6 separate regions of the Homo sapiens genome follow, and regions 1, 2, 3, 4 and 5 are each linked to region 6. The links are contacts of gene promoters, found by promoter capture Hi-C in blood cells and fetal thymus (Javierre and others, 2016). All regions are on one chromosome and are shown on one strand. The core of a region is centred on a gene start or on the middle of the fragment in contact, and the rest is flanking DNA. Distances in the headings are between cores, read along the strand shown.

Region 1 (3,366 bases), core at 867-3,366, 340 kb before region 6:
TTCCTTCCTGTTCTTACAGACACAAATCCTATGCTCTCTTTCCCACATTGCTGTCATCTTCCCATGTCACTGTCACTCATGCAGGCTGCTCCCAGACAGAGGCACTTTTCCAGTCACCCTTCCCTTCCTACCACTGTACCAGCCTCTATTCTCTCTCTAATCTTCTGCCCCTCTGGCCACATCTATCCTCAAATAGAGACTTTACTACCCTCATGGTTCAACCAGAGCCAGGCTTAAATGGCTTTGTAATTGGAACCAAGGGTTGTGGTGGCAGAGCCATGCACTGCCACCACAACCCTTATTGGGTGAGGCACCTAGGGTTAGGACAGAAGGAAACAACACACAGAGGTCAAGGGGGTAGGTACAAAGACAAAGGGTAGGACAAAGACATAAGCAGGAATCAGTATCCCAACAGACAGAAAAGAGGAATCTGATTCCAATCCCAGACACTGGCAAAGGACAGGTGCAGAAAAGCACAGGTCTGTCATGTTGAGGGAGATGAAAGCGTCTCCGAGATTTACCCTGTATACCCCTCACATACTGTCCAGGGTTTTCTAACTAAAATTGCCATTTCTAGAGGCTGGTACCTGCATCGGTCTCACTTTCAGAGCACTTAGCCTTATCCAACTTTTTTAAACAAAATTTTATTCCAGGCATGTGACCTATATGGGCTTAAAACCTTGGGATTCTTCGCTGTTTTAAATTCATACTACACATTAATTCACATTATGCAGCAAGAATGCTGACACATGAACCAGACCACATCAGAAGACAAGCAGGAAATAAGACCCCAACATGGGTTTTGCTCCCTCCCCAAACGCCTTCTACCTCTCCCAGATTAGTAAAGTAGTAGCCAGGCCTCCTTCCTGCCATACTGAGAGCCATCAGGTGAAGAGAAAGATGAGGTTCCACCAGTGGGGCTCCAAATCAGGCAGAGATCCACATGCATGCCTACAGTTCCAAACCTTCCCACTTCAGCCTGCATCTGGATGTCTGCCACTGTGCCCCTTTAAAGCCACCTTGATGCTCATTTTCCTCCATGGCACCTGTTTACACATGAAGATGAGGGTGGAGGGAAAATGACAGCACCTGCCAGGTGCCAGGGCCCGAGCTCCACTCCACAGAGTGGCCCAGAGAGCGAACAGCAGGGGGACCAGCATGCAGCCTTACATTACTTGAGCAGCCAGAAGAAACAAAAGGCACAAATGTCACATTGCCTTGTTTTCCCATTGATGGTTACTTCTCCTGCCCTGGGCCCCACCCTGCCACTCAGCCCTCTTTCCCGCCTTAGCCACACACCCCACCCCACATCCAAACCTCCCCAAGGGCTTTCCTTGTTTGTGTCCTGTTGAATCCACATGAATCACTAATTGCTGATTTAAACCCAGACACTAAGCGAATGACACATACAGTACAACAAATACAGATCCAATATGAAGAGACTGGCAAATGAAGGGCTCCCTGCCTTCTTGACTCTGCCTGAGCATACAGGTGACATGGAGACACTGCCTGTATCCCAGCCCACAGCTGAACAGAAGACTAACTAAACTACCAGCAGGGTGTCTGCATGCGTTGGGTGGTAGGGCACTGGCGCTAGTGAACTCACCCACTGGTTCTCTACTGAACCATGCATGGAATTACCTGAGATAGCTCAAAGGCTGAGACCTGGGTCCCACTCCCTAAGCGAGTTTGGTTTCACTGATCTGGGGTTGTTGCCTGAAATCAGAATTTTTAAAAGCTTCCCCAGTGATTCCAACATGCACACGAGAGTTTGAGAACCACTGATTGCACAAATCTATTATGAGTTTCAGACATTATTTAAGGCAGTCAAGGCATTTAGGACACCTTATATCCTTTAGTTATCACACCTTCCCTTGTTTTATTGTTTCTGTTTTATTGACATTCAGATGTCAATCATGGTGAAGCTGGGATAGGAACTCAGGTCCTCTAATTCTAAAGTCCATTCTCTTCCCACACACCTGTTACCTACTGCAAGGGTGTAGACAATGCATGGAAGCAATCTCCACTGCCAACAGATCACCCTAAGTTCCCTACGTGCAAGACACCTAGATTTGGAGACGTGAACCCTGTAGGCAACAATCATAATCCCTTCTGAATGCAGAGGACCGAGCCTTACAGAGAGGGCAGGGGGTGTGCTCATGTATGAGGTCTGAGATGGGGAAAGAGAATGGCACCAAATCCTGGCAATGAAGTTTATCCTAGACCTGAGATGTGTTCTAAGACAGCACGCTGAAGACAGTGCTCAATGGCATAAAAAGAATAGGCAATTGTTGAGCAGAGGGGCCTCTTCACTGGGGTGAAGGTCCTGCATCTGCACCTTAAGAGGGGTGTCAAAGGTTCACCTCTCAGGGCCATAGTTTCTTCTTCCCACTCTAGGCATTCTGATTTGTGGGAGCACAAAAGCCAATCCTAAAATCTCCCCTACCAGGCAGCTTCCTTTTCTTCAGGCTCTCCTTCTCCCAGAACTACGATCTAAGCTTCCTTGGTGAGGAGACACAGGACTAGTGCCCTCACATTTTTAGCCTTCAGACCACTCAGGTAGGCAAAGCATCCCTTCAACCCCCATCCCACTTACTCCCATTTCCACCTCAAAAAAGGCACCATCATTATCACCCAAACCAACTTTCGAGACAGAGGGGAATGATGTTCCCACTCCCAATTAGGAATCAATGCAGCCCAACAAAGAAGTGAAAACACCAGAGCATCCATGTTTGACATGCTACAAGACAGCAGCCCACCAGCCATGTGAAGTCCCTAAACCACAGATGTGCAGATGCAGGACCTCACCCCAGGGGCCAAGACAGACACTTTAAGAACAGCAAATGTTCCTTCTTATAGATAACAAATGATATTCCACCGTTGCTCTTGGGTTAGAAACGGGCCTCTTCGTACTCTACTCCAACCTGTGACACACACCGACCGCCTCCTGGTGTCCCCCAAATCCTAGTGTTGATGAAAAAGAACCACGAGAAATTACAGGAACCAAGAGCAGGTTAAACTTTCACATCGATTGCACTGATAAGCAGAGCCACTTACCCAGCACAGCCAGACAGCTCAGCACCGGGAAAAAGCACTTCATGTCGGCAGCCTCCAGGAGACACAACACAAGGCGCTTCCTCTTCTCCCAGCTCCTAATCTCTCATTTCTGGCAATCCACTTATAGCTCCAGAGAACAGTTTTGGAAATAGAACTTAACTCGGAAAATGGGAACAGATTAAAAAGAAGAGATCAGAAGGAGGGAGTTGGGGGGAAGGGGAGGAGTGGAGGCAAGTGTGAAAACTCCCCTATGCTACAGGAAGGGTCCACAACAATTCGGAAGTCGCTCCCGGCTCCTGCCACATCGTG
Region 2 (3,558 bases), core at 208-2,707, 500 kb before region 6:
CTGCATATTCTGAAGTTCCTCGATGACCCCATGACCTGCCCAGTTTGGGAACCACTGGCTCAGGGGCCACATGGAAAAAAGGCCAGGCAGGGAGGGGCCGGGGCCTCTCAGACTTTGGGCTGGGCCATTTGTGTGATTCCCTAGTTCCCATCCCAGCCAGTGAGTTTCTTGGAGCAGACATTTCCTCTTACTTATCCCCTCTTACAATCCCCACACAGGGCTGGCCACGTTTAGTATGTGGGAGCTGAATTAAGTTTCCAAATCTCATGGCTCATGTCTGTAATCCCAATATTTTGGGAGGCCAAGGCGGGAGGATCACCTGAGCCCAGAAATTTGAGACCAGCCTGGGCAACATGGGAAGACCCTGTCTCTACAAAAATTTAAACGTTAAAAATATTTTTTAATTAAAATTTTGAAATGTCTCCCCTTCCTAGACCCTGAACCTGTTCAGTTCTCAAGTTGACATGTTCAGAGGCCTGGCTGGTAGAGCCCGGGCCTGGTCCCACAGAATCAGCATGGTCCTGAAACACAAGAGCACAGGAGGCAAAGCTGGAAGGGCCCTTAGAGAACCTCTAGTCCAATAGCTTTCAAATTGTAATCCTAGGTACCCTGGGGTCCCATGGTGGAACCTCAGAGAGCAGGAAAAGGGAAGGGCAGAGGCTCAGTGGGAGGAAATGCCGGCCCTCCCCCCACCTCCACCCTTCCTTCAACCAGGCCAGCTCTGCTTTCACAGCTTTGTGTGACTTTCGCAATAACCAAATGGCTTCCAAGCTTCTCCCCTTGCCAACCCCACCCCCAGCCCCTGTCTATTTTCCATCTGGTGTCCAGAATGATCATTTCAAAACATAAGGCTCATCATGTCCCTCTTCTGTTCAAGACCCTACATTTGGCTTTCCATTTCACTCAACAGCAATCCAAGGTCCTCTTCATGGCCGGCAAGTCCCACCTGTTCTCACCCCGGCTGCCCCTACCTCATCTCAGCCACGCTGGCCTCCTTCGTATCCCTGAATGCACCAAGCAGGCTCTTATCCGACACCTGGGCAGGTCTTCTTCCTTCTGCTGGAAACACTCTTCCCCAAATAGCTGCATCCCTTGCTTCCTCTTGTCCTGACCACCCTATCAAAAAAGGCATCCTGTTCCATCAGCCCAGCCCCTTCCTGTACTGTACTGACTGTCCCTACTGAAATATAGGCTCCACGAAGGGGAGGACTTTGTTTTTTTTTCACTGCTATGTCCCCAGCACCAAGAACAACAGTGGCTGGCACATAGTAGGTGCTCAATAAATAATGATTTCCTGATTTAATCAGATTGGTTTTGAGTCTAAAGTTATTTTGTACGTTTTCTTCTTTACACATTTCTCTATTTTTCAAATTTTCTGCAGTAAATATGCATGTTTTTACCATCAGAAAAAGCAGTAAATGACATAGTCTTTTCTCTAGGACCAATCTTTGGGAGACTCAGAGCTGCTAGAGAATAATTTAAGAAGATGAAGGGAGGCCCTGCCTTGAGCCCCTGGTTCTGAGCAGCACCAGGTCGGTCCTGGTAGACTATAACAATACCACTGATTCCTAATGGTGGATGGGGGAACTTAGTGGGGCTAAGCAGACCCCACTTACCTAACAGCATTTTGTCTTGGGGTCACTGGGGAAGGAGAGAGAAGGAGTGAAAACACGACCAGCAGCAACCCCCTCCCCACTGAAATGCACCAGGATCTCCCTAACCCGATACAACAGACATGAGGACATGGGCTCCCAAGCACCCTCCAGTAAGGCATTGTGGCCATAGGTCATTCTTTAACTGGCACAACTGGCTTTTCTCAGACAGACTTTCTCTTTATTTTCTTCAGGGACTATTACTCTGAGGCCTAGTACCTGCTGCCTCTGCTTATATGACTGAATCTAGAACAAAGAAGAAACATCTTAGCTGAGGGGTCAGGGCTCTGGCCTGACAGAAACCCTGTGGTCTTGTCTCCATGTCAGAGCCCCATGACTCCAAGTGGGTGGGAGTCCTGGGCTCGCCCATGACTCATTGTTCGAGTTCGTAGAGAACTCAGAAGTTCCATATGGAAGCACAGCCTCACAGGCTAGAGACAATTCAGGAAACGAAAGCCCCATTCACTTGATTATTGGTTCATTTTCTGATGGAAGCTTTGCTGATCCTCTTTCATAAGGACCATCTGAAATAGACAACTGAAAAGAGAACTAGGGGGCCATTTCCCTTCCCTCCTCTAGCCCCTGAGCTCGGTCATCAGAGTCATGTGGACCCTAGCCCCTGGAGCTGGATAGGGCCCAGGGGTCATCTGGCCACTGTCTGTTTCATTGTGACTTACCAGGCAGGCCCCCTGATACTCAGGGACACAGCTGCCTGCCTCCTGGGCTGACTTTCCTGCAATGCTCTAGAGCGGAGCCAGCCAGCTTCTCCAAGAAGCCGGTGGTAAATACTCGCTCTGGGCACTGTCACCTTTTCTTTGTTTTTTCCTTACAACCCTTTAGAAACATAAAACCATCCTGAGCTCACGGGCTTCACAGAAACAGGCTGTGAGGATAGGCAAAGTACAGCCCATGAGCAAGACCCAGCCCACTGCCTGTTTTTGTAAAATAAAGTTTTAGTGGACACAGCCCTGCTGATCTCTTGATGAATTGCCTATGGCTGCTTCCACGCTACTACAATCGTGGAATTCTGTAGTTGAGACAGAGCCTGTAAGGTCAATAAAGCCAAAAATAGTTTCTATCTGTCCCTTCATAGAAAACATCTGCCAAGCCCTTCTCTAAAGTTTCATATGCATTCGTTCCTATTTAACACTCAAAACAATTTTTGAGATTAGTATTAGAGATGAGTATTCCTAATCTTACAGATGAAGAAACCGAGAACGAGAAAGGATAAGGCTTGCTCAAGGTCACATGGCTAATGAGGGGCAGAACCAGAACCCAAACCCAGATCTCATCTCTAAACCAGGGCTTCTTCACCTGGTGAAGCCGCTCCCGAAAGGTGGCAATTGTGAAGCGTGGAATATATCTCCTGTTCAGCCCCATCAAGTAGGGTAGCAGCAGGTTCCTTGGTGCCACGGTCTGAGAGAGACAAACTGACCTTGAACAGAAACTCTTAAGATTCTCACCAAATCCCACTGTGCAGAGAATGTCTCCAAGCCCAGTGTGCTCTCTGTGCACAGGAAAGATTCCTTTGGCAAGCTGGCTGGCTGGCAGGAGAGCTGTCCCCTAAAAGCCAAGTTTGGCTTCTGTTAAACATTTAACAACAGGTCGTCACTTCACTGTGAAGAGCCACAGAGCTGCTGCCATCTTCCCATGGAGACGTGGACTGCCCTTGGATCCCCCCAGGTCCCAGGGCTGCCATTTCCTCTAACTGCTGGGAACAGCTATGCCATTATTTGTATGAGAGAGACCCCCAGTGGATATTGCTGGTATCACTGTCCCTAAAAGCAGCTCGGCAAACACCTTCCAGGCTCCCAGAAGCTGGGTGTGTTCAAGATTATTACATTTGAGTAATTGCCCCAGTACCTAAAACCCAATGAGCATTGTCCTCTTCAAAATCCTTCCCGAG
Region 3 (3,859 bases), core at 1,097-3,596, 450 kb before region 6:
ACGATTGGAATCAAATTCTTCCAAACTCCTGTTAATGTTGATATTTTGATCTTCTCCCATGAACCACAAATATTCTTAATGACATCTAGAATGCTGAATCCTTTCAGAAGGTTGTCAATTTACTTTGCCCAGATTCATCAGAAGAATAATTATCTATGGCAGCTATAGCCTTACCAAGTGTATTCCTACATAATAAGACTTCAAAGGCAAAATTACTCCTTGATCCATGGGCTGCAGAATGGATGTTGTATTAGCAAGCATGAAAACAACACTCATCTCCTTGTACATCTCCATCAGAGCTCTTGGGTGATTAGGTGCATTGTCAACAAGCAATAATATACTGAAATGAATCTTTTTTTTCTAAGCAGTAAGTATTAACAGTGGGCTTACAATATTCAGTAAACCATGCTGTAAACAGATGTGCTGTCATCCAGCCTGTTGTTCCATTTTATAGAGCACAAGCAGAATAGATTTAGCCTAATTCTTAAGGGCCCTAAAAATTTTCAGAGTGGTAAATGAGCACTGGCTTCAACTTAAAGTCATCAGCTGCATTAGCCCACACAACAAGAGAGTCAGCTGTCCTTTCAAGCCTGAAGTTGACTTCTCCTGTCTAGCTATGGAAGTCCTAGATGGCATCTTCTTCCAGTAGAAGGTTGTTTTGTCTACATTGAAAATCTGTTGTTTCATGTATCCTGCACCAGTAATCTTAGATCTTCTGGATAATTTCTTGCAGCTTCTACATCAACACTTGCTGCTTTACTTCACAGTTTTATGTTATGGAGATGGCTTTCTTCCTAAGATCTCATGAACTAACCTCTGATAGCTTCAAACTTTTCTCCTGCAGCTTTCTCACCTCTCTCAGCCTTCACAGAACTAAAGAGAGTTAGGGTCTTGCTCTGGATTAGGCTTTGGATTAAGGGAATGTTGTAGCTGGCTTGATCTTCTATGCAGACTACTCGAACTTTCTCCATCTGCAATAACGCTGTTTCACTTTCTTATTTATGTGTTCACTGAAGTAGCACTTTTAATTTCCTTCAAGAACTTTTCCTTTGAATTCACAACTTCACTAACTCTTTGGCATAAAAGGCCTAGTTTTCAGCCCATCGTGGCTTTTTTTTTTTCTTTCTTTCTTTTTTTTTTTTTTTCTTCAGACAGAGTTTCATTCTTGTAGCCCAGACTGGAGTGCAATAGTGCCATCTTGGCTCACTGCAACATCTGCCTTTCAGGTTCAAGCGATTCTCCTGCCTCAGCCTCCCAACCAGCTGGGATTACAGGTGCCCACCACCACACCCAGCTAATTTTTGTATTTTTAGTAGAGACGGGGTTTCGCCATGTTGGCCAGGTTGGTCTCAAACTTCTGACCTCAGGTGATCCACCCACCTTGGCCTCCCAAAGTGCTGGGATTACAGTTGTGAGCCACCACGCCCGGCCACCTGTCATGGCTTTTCACATGCCTTCCTCACTAAGCTTAATCATTTCTAGTTTTTAATTTAAAGTGAGAGACAGTGCAACTCTTCTTTTCACTTGAGCACTTAGAAGCCATTGCAGGGTTATTAAATTGGCCTAATTTCAGTATCATTGTCTCAGGTGACAAGGGAGGCCAGGAGAAGGAGAAAGATGGGGAGAACAGCCAGTCAGTGGAGCAGTCAGAACACACATAGCATTTATCAATTAAGTTCACCGTCTTATACGCATGGTTCTTGGCATCCCAAAACAATGACAACAGTAACATCAAAGATCACTGATCACAGATCACCATAACAGATATGATAATGAAAAAGCGTTAAATATTGTGGGAATTACTAAAATGTAACAGAGAGACAAAACATAAAGTTAGGCACTGATGGACTTGCTTAAAGCTGGGTTGTCACGAACCTTCAATTTGTAAAAAGCACATTATCTGTGAAGTGCAATAAAGTGAAATGCAATAAAAGGAGGTGTGCCTGAGGGATTTACCATTCTTTAATAAAAATGGTCTTATGCACACTTCTCTACATCCCGCCTTTCCATTAATATGTCATAAAATCTCCTTGAAATCAACTGGTATAGCTATACTTTATTCTTTTTAATAACTACATAATATTCCAGAGCATGAGGGAACCATAATTAATCTGCCATCCACCACTGATGAACACTCCTTTTGTGGCTAGCTTTGTCTATTGCAGTTACACCGCAATAACTATCCTGTACATATGTCCTGATGTATTTATGGTTTCATATTTATGTGGGAGTAGAGTGGAGCTGGGAGTTGCTACATCAAAAGGTAAATAGATTTTTTTTATTTTAATAGAAGTTGCTGCATTGTTTACAAAAAAGACTTTGGCAATTTACATCTCCATCAGTAATGCCTGAGTTGCCCTTTCCTTGGACTCCTGACAGCATTAGGTAATTTTTTTTTTATGTTTAATTTTTGGGCAAATAGTGACATTTCATTGATACTTGAATTTGCATTTTCCCAACCTTTAAAAATTTAAGCATCTCTTCTGCTTGTTGATTTGGATTTCTTTTTCTGAGAAATGTCTTTTCACATCCTCTTTTTTTGTATTAGATTGTTTGTTTTTTTCTTCTCAAAGTTTAAAGGCTCCTTATATGTTATATATTTTTATCTGTATTATAGTTTTTTTTCAAATACAGCCTTTGCCTATTGAATTTACTAAATGAATATCTTCCATACAAAGTTTCTATATTTTTACATAATGAAAGTGTTTATCTTTTCTGGCTATGGTGTGGAAGACTGATGGGAGGGGTAAGACTAGATAGCAAGAGATCCATCAGACAGCAATTTCAGACTGGTCAAGAGGCAGCATTGTGCTAGGCAAAGTGGTTCAAGAGACATTAGGGAGGTAAAACTGGGAGAACTAGATGATTGACAGCATATGGGGTAAAGGAGGAGGAGAGGAGGTGCCAGGAGGGCCAGGATGAATCACAGCTCTTACTTCCTCCTAGGTGGGTTGTGGTGTCTTTCCCTAAGAAAGGAAACACAGCAGGAAGACTAAGACTGGCCTGGAACATCATGCTTTCAGTTTGACACTGTTCAGTGTGAGGGGTCTGTGAGACATCCAAGCAAAGATGCCCAGTAGCTGCTAAGTACACAGGTCTGGGACTCACAGGAAAGGATACAGATTTGGGAGTCATCACATTTCTAGTGGCTCCAATGGAGGCCATTAGGACCATCACCTTGGGAGAGCGTATGAAGTGGGAAAAGGCAGCTTGGACCTGTGCTTTAAAGCTTGGCTAGAGGGGAAAACACTGGCTAAGGAGACTGAGAGAGACCTGGGAAGTAGAAGAAAGGCCAGGAGGGGGATGGCATCATAACTCCAAGACAAGAGTCAACATGTGGAGACTTGACTGAATAAAAGGCACTAGTGATATTACTCAGATAGTAGGAAAAAGATGGAAGAAAATTCAAATGTAAGCAGAATTAAACACACATACAAAAACACATGCATACAATTTATTTTTGCTTATGCTCTAAAAGAACCTGTAGTTTCACTGAATACTGGGATCTGGGTGATATTTATTCAGGATGTTAACAAATAAAACAATAGTATAACCTACATAAAGAGATATGCATAATGATATTCATTTTAAAGTTATCTATACTAGTAAATAATAATCTAGTCTAATAGTTAAACAATTTAGTATTATGCCATGGCTTACTATGTGGTTATTTTAAAAAAGGAAACAGGATATTCTCCTTTTATTATTGGGAATTTGGAAAATTTCTTAATATTAAAAATAAAAAGTTATAGAAATATATATGCAGAATATTCCTCTTTTTAAAAACAATAAAGAGGCCAGATGTGGTGGCTCATGCCTACAATTCTAGCACTTTGGTAGGCCAAAGTGGAAGGATCAC
Region 4 (3,943 bases), core at 166-2,665, 300 kb before region 6:
GTCAGGACCCTCCTCTTACCTTCCAGAAGAAATCTACACTTGGATTTCCTTTAGTCACATTTAATGCCTTTCTAAAAAAGTGTGGTTCCTGAACCAGTCACATCAGAATCACCTGGAAGCTTATTGGAAATGCAGAATCTTGGGCCTTGTCACAAAACTACTGAATCAGAATCTGCATTCTAACAAGATGACCAGGTACTTTGTAAATCCATTAATTTGGAAAGCACCACTTTAAGCAATTAGAAATGGAACTCATAATCAACCTGCTCTCAGTGGCGAAATAAATGTTTTTTCACAATTTTCCTACCAGGTCAATGGCAACCCTGTCTAAAAACCCAGATTCACAACAACTCTCAAAATTACTTTTCCAATACTTTCTTGTCTTCATTACCTATGTCCAATCTATCACCAATTTGAACCTATTAATTCCACTGTCCAATTGGTCTGTTTTTCCTAACCATGCCTTCCTCACTTTCTGCAGGCTCTAATAGATGCATTTGCCAGTCAGCCTCCTCATTTAAAAAATGGGTCAAATAATGCTTATAATGCCTCATATACATATTTACATAGAATACAAATTTAATGTGTAATTATCTTCATCCTGGTAGGACTGGTTTTCCACTATGGCTTTGTATACAGTTGTAAGGGATATTGCAAATAACATATTATTAACCATAAAGTGCCAAAATCTATGAACAATTTTGATTTTAAATAAATTAGAAGGGATTAAATATTATTTCTAAAATTATTTTCCCTCATCTGCACTTTAATATGCTATAATGAGTAACAGAGAAAGTGGTGGAATAATACCAGGTAGGCCAGGAATTATAGATAGGAGTGTCTTACACATGAGCATCATGTATCACAGAGGTCAGCAAACTCTTTCTGTGAAAGGCCAGATAGGATTTTAGGCCTTCTGGGCCATATGGTTCCTGTTACAACTACTCAACTCTACCATCATAATGAGGAAGCAGCCAGAGGCAATACTTCTTGATTACTGTAGCTTTAAAGTAAGTCTTGAAATCAAATTAAGTCCTTCAGTTTTGAACTTCTTTTTCAAAATTGTTTTGGCTAACATAGGCTATTTTAATTTCTTACAAATTTTAGGTTCAGTATTACAATTGCTTAAAGAAAAAATGCCTGCTGGGATTTTGATTGGGGTTGCATATAATCTATATATCAATGTGATGAGAATGGACAGCATAACAATATTGAGTTTTCCAATTCACAAACAGTTATGTGTCTCCATTTTTTAAATGTCTTTAATTTCTTTCAGTAGTTTTTTTGTAGTTTTTAGCATAGGTCCTATACATGCTTAGTTAAATTAATTCCAAAATATTATCTATTTCTGATGCTATTGTAAATGATGTTTTACATTTTAATGTCTCACTTATTTGTTGCTTGTATACAGAAATACAATTTATTTTTTATGTTGACTTTGTATTCTACAACCTTACTAAATTCACTTATTAATGTAGTAGCCATTCAGGGTAGACTTGTATTTTCTAGATAGAAAATTATGTACATGGCTGGGCATGGTGGCTCATGCTTGTAATCTTAGCTCTTTGGTAGGCTGAGGTGGGAGGACTGCTTGAGGCCATGAGTTTGAGACCAACCTGGGCAACACAGCAAGACCTCATCTCTATTAACTAAAAGAAGAAAAGAAAAAAGAAAAGAAAAGAAAATTGTGTACTATGTGAATAAAAAAAGTTTAACTTCTGTTTTTCTAATCTGTAAGATTTTTTTTTTTTTTTGGTCTTATTTTACTGGTGGGACACCAATATTAATGTTGAATAGAAGAGAAAAAACAAACATTCTTGCCTGGATCTCAATATCAATGGGAAAATGTTGAGTCTTCCAATATTAATTTACAGTATTTGCTCAGGTTTCTCATTGATTCCTTTATTAGGTTAAGATGGTTGTCTTTTATTCCTAGTTTACTGAGTTTTAAAAATCATAACAAGGCACTGAATTTCATCAGATGATTTTTCTGCATTGTTGTAAATGATCATAGGATTTTTCTTTTTTATTCTATTAATGTGATGAATGACAATGATTGATTTTCAAATGTTAAATAACCTTGCATGCCTGGAATAAACTCCATTCAGTCATGATGTATTATCATTTTAATTGTATTTCTGGATTCTAGTTGCTAATAGTTTGTTAAGAATTTTTTATCTATGCTATGTTCATAAGGAATTAGACTATAATTTTCTTTTAATGTCTTTGTCTGGTTTTGTTATTAGAATAATGGTGACTTCATAAAATGAGTTGGGAAGTATTTCTTCCCCCTCTATTTTCTGAAAGATTTTGCTTAAGATTGGTATTATTTCCTTTTTAAATGTTTGATAGAATTCATTATTTAATCTATCTAGGCCCAGAGTCCACTTTGTCAGAAGATTTTAAGTTATAAATCCAATTTATTTAGGCTTAACATAGAATTGTTGAAATTTTCTATTTCTTCTAGTGTCAATTTGAGTTATTCATGTTTTCAAAGGAATTATCCATTTCAACTAAACTTTTTAATTTGTTGGCATAAGTGGTTCATAATATCCCCTTTTTATTTTTTAATGTCTATAAGACTTATAATGATGTCCCTTCTTTTATTATTAATATTTATTTTTGTGTTTTTGCTTTTTCTTTCTTTATCCATCTTGCTAGTAGAAGTTTATTTTTTATTTTTAGGGGTTGTTTTCTCTTTAATGGAAAACAAAGCTTATTTTGAGGATTTTTTTCATTCATCAAACATTAGCTTGGAATTGATGACTGGCATAGTATTGGGAGTTTGGTTGGGGAGGGACTACAAAAATCAGAAGATAGTTTTTACTTTCTTGTTTTAAATTTTGTTCTATCAACTACTGAGAGGGGGTTATTAAAAATCTCAAACTATACTTTTGTATTTGTGTGTTTTTTCTTTCAGTTCTGCCAGTTTTTTCTTTGTGTATGTTCAAACTTTGTTGTTAGGTGCTCATACATTGAATATTGTAAGTATTCTTGATCAATTGACCCTTTTTTCATGATGAAATATTTCCCTTTAATCTGGAAGTATTTCTTTTTTTTTTTTTTTTTTTTTTTTTTGAGATGGAGTCTTGCTTTGTCGCCCAGGCTGGAGTGCAGTGGCGCGATCTCAGCTCACTGCAAGCTCTGCCTCCCGGGTTCACGCCATTCTCCTGCCTCAGCCTCCCGAGTAGCTGGGACTACAGGCACCCACCACCATGCCCAGCTAATTTTTTGTATTTTTAGTAGAGACGGGGTTTCACCGTGTTAGCCAGGATGGTCTCAATCTCCTGACCTCCTGATCTGCCCACCTCGGCCTCCCAAAGTGCTGGGATTACAGGCGTGAGCCACCGCGCCCAGCCTGGAAATATTTCTTATGAAGTCTACTTTGTCAGATTTCAAAGTGGCCACTCTAGCTTTATAATTAATATTTGCCAGGTATATCTTCTGTTCTTTAACTTTTACCTGTATGTATCTTTGTATTAAAAAACTAAGCCTTGTAGAAAACATATAGTTGGATGTTGCTTTTCTACCAAGTATAATAGTATCTCTTAATAGATGATTTTGGTCCTACTATACTTTTCTACCAAGTATAATAATACCTTTTAATAGATGATTTTGGTCCATTTTTACCTAATACAATTCTTGATATGGCTGTGTTAAATCAGTTAACTATTGACTTATTGGTTTCATTTTTTTCTTTGTTTTGTTTTCCTTTCTCTCTCCCTTCTTTTGAGTTAAAAAGTTTATTTTTTCATTTTATTTTCACTATTGTCTTATTAGCTATAACCTTTTTAATAGTTTGCTCTAGGGTTTATATAATGTGTCTTTTATTAATTTTTTTCTTCTATAATGTAGAATCTGCTTTTAAATCTGCCTAGTGGGCTTTTTATTTTAGATATTGGGGTATTTTTTAGCTTTAGATGGCTGATTTGTTTCTTTTTCT
Region 5 (3,475 bases), core at 869-3,368, 410 kb before region 6:
CAATAAGGCAGCTAATTGCAAGCAGGTCTCTGGTTGCCATATTGATTTGGGGAGGGGTATATATTCAATGGAATAAAGCCATTAAAGATGTAAAATTGTATCTGGGACAACTCCATGCAACAAAACTCTGCCTCGTGTCCTGTGTGACTTTCGAATGACATTCATATGGGCAAAAATTATGCCTCTGGGCCTAGAACCTACTTTCGTTTTACTATAATCACAATACTTTTATTTTGCATGGTTTTAAAATATGCCAGGTCAGTCAAGAGAGGATTTTCCTTTGTTTTGTTCAGAATTGTAGCAAGAGTTACTCAGGACTTCAGAAACCCTGTCAGGATGGCAGTCCTGCTCATGGTGCCAAGTCTGATACAGTGACTGTCAGTGTGCATTTAGAGACAGCGTTGACTGTGACTGTGCCTCCTAGCATAGCTGTCCTGAGCATTTACGCACTGAAACTCATTATTTTACTATGAACTACTTTTTTTAAAAAAAACTTTCTTTATCCCACAACTAGGACAATATAGCAAATTTTAAAGATATGATTAGGAATGTTATATTGTATATGAATTTCATTTCTGGGTAAAGGGAACATTATAAATTATTACAAAAATGGAGTATATGATCTGGGTATGAGCTAAAGTCCTAATTTCTGAGTTTAGGATATTCTCATTTATTTAGCAAACTTTCATCTGGTCCTATGTGCTCAGCACTATTCTAAGCACTTTATAAATATTAACTATTTGGTCCTCACCAATCCTATGAAATAAATATTATTCCCAATTTTATAAAGACACTTGCCCAAGGTCACACAGCTGGCTTAGTGGTAGAGCTGGAATTCAAACCCAGGCCGTCTGGTCTGTCCTTGCTTTTAGCTATTACATATGCCCACCCTCACCCCATGCTCCCATGTACAAAAGGGACTTCTTGATCCCTGCCAGCTTGCCTGGGGGTGAACCCTCCCCAGACCCCATGCTTTAGTCATCTCAAGATAAGCATGCTGCTCCCACCCTCCGTGACTATATTTATTCACACTCTTCTCTGAGCCTGAAATGCTCCACTCCTCCTTCCCAACCTCCCACCCTCACCCCTACCCCATTCCCTCCTCACGCCCCCTGCCCCCGTTCATGCCCTGTGCTGGCTCTGCCTCCACACCTGTAACGCTTTTCTGCTCTCCTTTGTCCCTAGGCCTGCTGCCTCCCACAGAGCCCGCAAGGCAGGAACGTGACACACCCATCTCAGCAGCCTCACCAGCATGGCAACCTGGCACTTAGTAGGTGCTCAATGCATGCAGAGAGACAGGGAGGGAGGGGCAAGGGGAAAGCAGCAAGAGTCTGCAGGTGGAAATAGCTAATGAAGGTTACCCAGATGTGCCCTACCCTGCCTTACCTGTCTGCAGGTAGGGCAGTGACCCTGGCTCCTTGATGCCAATAACAAGTGCCCCGGTGTTACCATGACAACAGGCCTGAGGGATCTGGGAGGGGCTGAGCTCTCCTCTTAGGGCTCTTGCACTGACACCCATTCTATCTTGGCACAGACAACAGGCAGAAGCCACCTGGGATGGAAGAAGGAGAACCCCAGACTCCCCTGAAAGAAGGCAGAGGCCAGTCCTCTGAGGGATGGGGCAGCCATCCCTCAGAATGTGAAAGGAGAGCCAGTGTTCACATGCTCTGGACTCATGGAAGTCAAAGAAAAGCCCTCTGCTATCCCAATCTGCCGGGTCAGCAATAAGAAATAGAAGAAAACCGATTTGGCAACATCCAGAGGGTATTAAATATTCATCCTGACTGCCCATCAGTAAAATCCCAGCAGAATACACCCTCTGACAAGTCGGCTTTCCACCACTAGAGGCTGTCCTCATGGAAGCTTGTTTATGGCTTTGTCAATTTTAATGTACAATATTTAATAGCCAAACCAAGATATTGTCATAAACATTTGGAAAATGAGTGCTAACATTTCCCTTACTGCTTCTGTATTTAAGGATATGTAATTGGAGGGTGTTTTGAGCTAAAGAAAATCAGAAGGAAGCAAGGCAATTATGCTTCACAATTAAAAGAGAAAAGAACTGATTAAGAGCTAATAATCAAACATGTGAACTGGCTGAAAGTCTTGCCTAAGCACCCCTTGAGGGGTCACACTATGTGATCAATGGGGATCAGACTAAGCTAGATCAATGGCAACGTTGACAGTGATGGCATTCCTTGAAGATTCTGTTGGGGATATGCATATGCAACAGGAAGCACACACAGGGAATGGTCAAATAACAGATCCACAAGTCAACTGTGCCATCCAACCAGAGATTCTGATGAATACTGATATGGGGGCAGGATCAGCAGGTGGCTCCAGCAGGGACGAGTCTGGGGCACAGACCACAAAGAAGCTTGCTGCGATAAATGATATCACAGCAGTGGAAGGCTGATGGTAAACAGACCAGCATGAGTGAGTCAACAGTCCCTGGGTTCCTATTTGATTCTGATGGAATAAGAATATTTAACACAATATTCTTTAAAACGGGGGTAGCAGGGGACATTTCTATGGAAGACACCAGAGCAGGGCTAAGAATCTATGTTTTGAGGGGCAAGGTACGCAGGGAGAGCAAAAGAAGAGAGGACAGCGCTGGTTCGGAGCTCTGGTATCCGCAAGTCTTAGAGCCACCTTGTGGCAGAAGCTGGAAGAATCAGGAGTTAAAAGAGGCACAAGATAAAACTTCTACACCATCAGCAAACTGTGTCTTGAGGAACCTCTACCAATGTCTTATGACCCCAACTTCCAAAAAACAAATTTAAGGATTTGCTAAAGGGGATTAGGAAATCAGGGGTGGTTAACCAGAGAGAGGAAACATTAAATACAAGTATACAGTACCAAAGAGGATTCCTGAGAAGAAAAACACTTGTCTAGAACATATAATAATAAAATTAGGAACTTGGACTCTGGAGCCAAACTGCCTGTCTGGACTTGAATCCTGGCTCTGCCACTTACTATGGCACACTGGGCAATTTATGTAACTTCTGTGTCAGTGTCCTCATCTGTGAAGTTGGGTAAAACGGTCCCCCTCACAGCACTGCATGGATTAAGAAACGAGGAACCAAAGCATTCACAGTGGTTTACAAGAAATGCTCAGTGAATATTAGCTGCTACTGTTGTTACTACCAGTAACACTAGTGCTATAACTCCTCCACATCATCAATCTACAAGGAGAAAATTCTTCTGTAAAGGACACGATTAACTGAATGCTGAAAGAATAATCTCTGATTACATAGCCTTTAAAAGGTCAAAGTCTCCCTACCGCAATTACTCTTTAACAAGGCACACCTGGATTCAAATCCCAACTTCCCCCATTCACTAGGTGTTTAATTTGAGGAAGTGAGAATCTCTCAGAGCCTCTGTTACTTCATTTATAAAATGGGAAAGCAATATGTTCCTCCCAGGGTTGCAGTGAAGATTAAGTGAGGTAATATACACCAAGTGTCCAACAGTC
Region 6 (3,829 bases), core at 591-3,090:
AACTCTAGCACTAGCGTAGTATTAGTCTAGGTTCAGGGCCAACTGTTGCATTTAGATACTCCTCTGCCATCCTTGATACCTGGGTTCACATCGGTGTAACTGCCCATTAGCGTAACTGCCCAACAGGTTTCTCCTTGCCTGCTGCCCAGATAGAACAGACTTATCAAGACAGGAGAATTGCAATAGAGAAAGAGTTTAATTCACACAGAACCAGCTAAATGGGAAACCAGAGTTTTATTACTCAAATCAGTCTCCCCGGAAATTCAGAGACTGGAGTTAGTAAGGATAATTTGGCAGGCCAGGGAGTGGGGAGTGCTGATTGGTCAGGTAGGAGATGAAATCACAGGGGATCAAAGGGGGTTCTTGCAGTCTTCCGTTCCTAAGTGGGATCAAAGAACTGGTGGAACCAGATCACCAGCCTGGATGGTGTCAGCTGGTGCATCAGGATGCAGGGTCTGAAAAATACCTTGAGCACCAATTTAGGTTTTACAATAGTGATGTTATCCCTAGGAACAGTTGGGGAGGTTGGAATTGTGTGGCCTCTGGCTGCATGACTCCTAAACCATAATTTCTAATGTTGTGGCTAATTTGTTAGTCTTACTAGGGAAGTCTGCTCCCCAGGCAAGAAGGGGGTTTGTTTCCAGAAAGGGCTGTTATCCTCTTTGTTTCAAAATTAAACTAAGCTAAATTCCTCCCAAAGTTAGTTTGGCCTACAACCAGGAATTAACAAGGGCAGCTTGGAAGTTAGAAGCAAGATGGAGATGGTGAGGTCAGATCCCTTTCACTGTCATAACTTTCTCACTGTTACAATTTTTGCAAAGGCAGTTTCACAGGGCAGATGAAGATTTACTTAAATGTCTCATGATGGTGATGATGGTAGCTAATATTCATTGAGCAGTTACTATGTACCAGATATTGTTCTAAGTGCTTTAAATAAATTAGCTTGAAACTATCATTCTCAGCAAACTATCTCAAGAACAAAAAACCAAACACTGCATGTTCTCACTCATAGGTGGGAATTGAACAGTGAGAACACTTGGACACAGGAAGGGGAACATCACACACCGGGGCCTGTCATAGGGTCGGGGGAAGGGGGAGGGAAAGCATTAGGAGATATACCTAATGTAAATGACGAGTTAATGGGTGCAGCACACCAACATGGCACATGTATACATATGTAACAAATTTGCACGTTGTGCACATGTACCCTAGAACTTAAAGTATAATAATAATAAAAAAAAGTAAAATACAAAAAAAAAGAAATAAAAAAATAATTAAAAAATTAGCTCATTTGGCATTCACAGTAATCTTACAGGGTACCTACTATTAGTATCCTCATTTTAGCAATGAGGGTTAGGAAAAGTTAATTAAGTTTTCTAAGATTGCACAGTTACTAAAACTAGAATCTGCATGCAAACCCAGGCAGCCTGACTCTAGAGCCTGTAACCTTCAGCACCACCTCATGTCGCCCCAAGTTCATGTTTTTCAGGGGCCTTCTCCCATTTCTCAGTCATTTCCTCTCTCAAGAGAGGAGGAGAAGGAAGGGCCAAGAAGACAACATTGCTGGTGCCTTTTTTATTTATTCAGTTTACCTAAATTCTCTCATCATTACCAAATGACACATACTGTGAGCCAGGTTGAGACCCATCTTTTCTTAGTTTTATCGATATCTGTTTACTTAACCACAAAGATAACTTTTTTACTCCCAAATTTGAGTGATTAGTAAAGAGCTACATAATGTAACCAGTTTTGCTTTTCACAAGACATCTCTATTTCTCAGTGGGCTGAAAACCACACTTTTGCTTCCTCTTTACTTTGCAGTGAGAGCACAGCATTTGTCACTCAACCTCTGAATGTTAGTGACACTATTGGGACGAAAAAGGACTGTGCTGGCCCAAATGGCAGGCATCTCATATGTGGCATCTTTCTTTCTCCTTCTGAGTAAGTTTCATAATCCTTTATGTTTCTCTTGTCACAGGAGTTCATCAACTCAGGGTGCTGAGTGATGGAACAGGACAATTTGGTCTCTACAGGAACAACTATGCCATATATTTCTGATGTTAGCAATAATTTTTGACTTACTAATGACAGTTCTTGGCTTACCTAGACATCCTTGAGTTCCAGGGAGTCACAATGCTTGGTTGAGTCCCATGCACAAGATTCCATTGGTTTTAACATTTGTGTGTGTTGCCAGATCTGTCAGTTTTGCTTGGCCCTGGCTTTACTCATCTTCCTGGGCCGATCATCCCAAGAGACAGTAAAAAAGCTTTGTGTCCCAAACTGAGAGGAGACCTTAAGGTTTGCCTGATATTAAGGCTTGATGGGATAACTATGCCTTGCAGATATGACTGGATGGAAAGAAAGGTTATGAAAGTACTTAGTAGTTTTAGACTATGCTAAAAGAAGGTTCTAGATTTCACCTGCGAGTGGAAGTGGAAATTGACTACTGAGAGACTGAGAAATGAACAGGAAGATTCACTTGGCTCTACTGAGGGCCATGCAGAGGGGCTTGCCTGATCTAGGGGCATTTATCTATGTTTGAATAGGATGGAAGAAGAGAAAATTTGGAGGTAGAAGGGAGAGTCAGATGAGTTGAGCAGGTAATGGAATAGTTTCAAACCAGATAGCAGGTACTTTTTATGCTACAGTTTTCATTAACATCTGGTAAAGAGAATAGACTCCATCTCAGAATAATGTTTAAAATGCATAAAATAAAATGCATAGAATTACAGAGGAAATCAGTCACATTGAAATACAGGTATCAAAATATTTTAAATAAATTATAATGCAGTAATTTATTTGCTTCTTATTTATGCATTACATAACAAAATCTACAGGTAGGTCTTTTAACCACCAAACTTCAAAGTAATGATGAGTATAAATAACATTTCAATATATCTTAAGTAGTTGTAATGTGATATGAAGATATCTGTGGTTGTCTACATACATAACTGAAGAAAATACTAAATTTCCATTAGAGGCAAAAATGAAAATAAAGATGTAAGATTATTTTTCACCCTAGTTTATGGACCCTTTAATCCTACATGTGGACCCAGTTAAGAACTCTTGCTTTATAGCTGGGCATGGTGGCACATACCTGTGGCCCTAGCTACTTGGGAGGCTGAGGTGGGAGAATCGCTTGAACCTGGGAGGTGGAGGTTGCAGTGAGCCAAGATTGAGCCACTGCACTCCAGCCTGGGTGACAGAGTGAGATTCCATCTAAAAAAACAAACAAACAAACAAAACTCTTGCTTTAGAGAGACTGGATGGAGCCAGTGCAGGGACCCGAATGGCTGGGATGATTGGGGAACTAAACCAAGCTGCATTTGGTGTGACCAGGACTATGGCTGAAGAATTAAAAGAAAAGAATACAGCATTCAGCACAAAGAGGTTGCTTAATAAACATTGATTGAGTTGAATTGTGCTCATGTCTCTAGGTACATATGATAGTGTGAGGTTAAGAGTCAGACCTAGGGCCTGCAGGGGAAGTTACTGGGACCACTTGCTGGGTGACGGATGCCTGCCAGACTGGCTTGGCGGGTGTTGATGGATAGGTGCACTGGTGGGATCCTTTGGGGGCTGGTGTGTTTTTGTTGTTTGGTTAAGTTGTCTGAGTGTGATTCTCAAGTGTATGTGCTTTGTGTATTTGAATTCTATGTTTGCTATGTATATAGGAGGAAACTGGGTTTACATTGTGCAATAATTCATAGAATTGCAAATTCTGTCTCTTTTTTTGGTAAGCAGGCTAGAAGCCCTGGGGGAAGGAAAGTAGTAATCAAGGCTCAAAAAGGGGAAGCTGGAAGCTTTTCCTTAACCCATTTAAACAATT

Evidence for each region. The method cuts DNA at HindIII sites, captures the fragments that hold promoters and counts their contacts. A CHiCAGO score of 5 or more calls a contact.
Region 1: a contact is called between a fragment that was not itself captured here and the fragment with the promoter of CD101 in region 6, in 2 of 17 cell types (activated CD4 T cells and M1 macrophages). The highest score is 5.7, in activated CD4 T cells.
Region 2: a fragment that was not itself captured here is called in contact with the fragment with the promoter of CD101 in region 6 in 1 of 17 cell types (M0 macrophages); the score reaches 7.0 in M0 macrophages.
Region 3: a fragment that was not itself captured here is called in contact with the fragment with the promoter of CD101 in region 6 in 2 of 17 cell types (M2 macrophages and M1 macrophages); the score reaches 5.1 in M2 macrophages.
Region 4: a fragment that was not itself captured here is called in contact with the fragment with the promoter of CD101 in region 6 in 6 of 17 cell types (total CD8 T cells, activated CD4 T cells, M2 macrophages and 3 more); the score reaches 7.0 in total CD8 T cells.
Region 5: a contact is called between a fragment that was not itself captured here and the fragment with the promoter of CD101 in region 6, in 1 of 17 cell types (M1 macrophages). The highest score is 6.8, in M1 macrophages.

Annotation. Positions count from the first base shown.
Region 1 is chr1:116,663,227-116,666,592 of GRCh38, forward strand. It overlaps IGSF3 (immunoglobulin superfamily member 3), which reads right to left. Exons shown (of 11, transcript NM_001007237.3): 2 at 3,058-3,366. The coding sequence starts at 3,100. Among named protein-coding and RNA genes, the nearest start is that of IGSF3, 2.8 kb to the right of the region's middle. The HindIII fragment of the contact is 760 bases long and covers 1,737-2,496 here.
Region 2 is chr1:116,495,836-116,499,393 of GRCh38, forward strand. All of the region lies in intron 1 of LOC112268235 (a long non-coding RNA gene), which reads left to right. Among named protein-coding and RNA genes, the nearest start is that of LINC01762, 19 kb to the left of the region's middle. RefSeq lists an enhancer at 3,200-3,299. The HindIII fragment of the contact is 1,376 bases long and covers 770-2,145 here.
Region 3 is chr1:116,550,609-116,554,467 of GRCh38, forward strand. The region is part of intron 1 of CD58 (CD58 molecule); the gene reads right to left. It overlaps LOC105378925 (a long non-coding RNA gene), which reads left to right. Exons shown (of 3, transcript XR_947739.2): 3 at 1-3,859. Among named protein-coding and RNA genes, the nearest start is that of MIR548AC, 7.6 kb to the right of the region's middle. The HindIII fragment of the contact is 1,762 bases long and covers 1,466-3,227 here.
Region 4 is chr1:116,698,863-116,702,805 of GRCh38, forward strand. The region is part of intron 2 of LINC02868 (long intergenic non-protein coding RNA 2868); the gene reads left to right. Among named protein-coding and RNA genes, the nearest start is that of LINC02868, 6.7 kb to the left of the region's middle. The HindIII fragment of the contact is 2,596 bases long and covers 118-2,713 here.
Region 5 is chr1:116,593,799-116,597,273 of GRCh38, forward strand. All of the region lies in intron 7 of IGSF3 (immunoglobulin superfamily member 3), which reads right to left. It overlaps LOC105378924 (a long non-coding RNA gene), which reads left to right. Exons shown (of 3, transcript XR_947737.3): 2 at 1,186-1,270; 3 at 1,535-1,943. Among named protein-coding and RNA genes, the nearest start is that of CD58, 25 kb to the left of the region's middle. RefSeq lists a silencer at 3,066-3,125. The HindIII fragment of the contact is 514 bases long and covers 1,862-2,375 here.
Region 6 is chr1:116,999,920-117,003,748 of GRCh38, forward strand. CD101 (CD101 molecule) reads left to right here and starts at 1,841. Exons shown (of 10, transcript NM_001256106.3): 1 at 1,841-1,941. The coding sequence starts at 1,899. The HindIII fragment of the contact is 2,275 bases long and covers 1-2,264 here.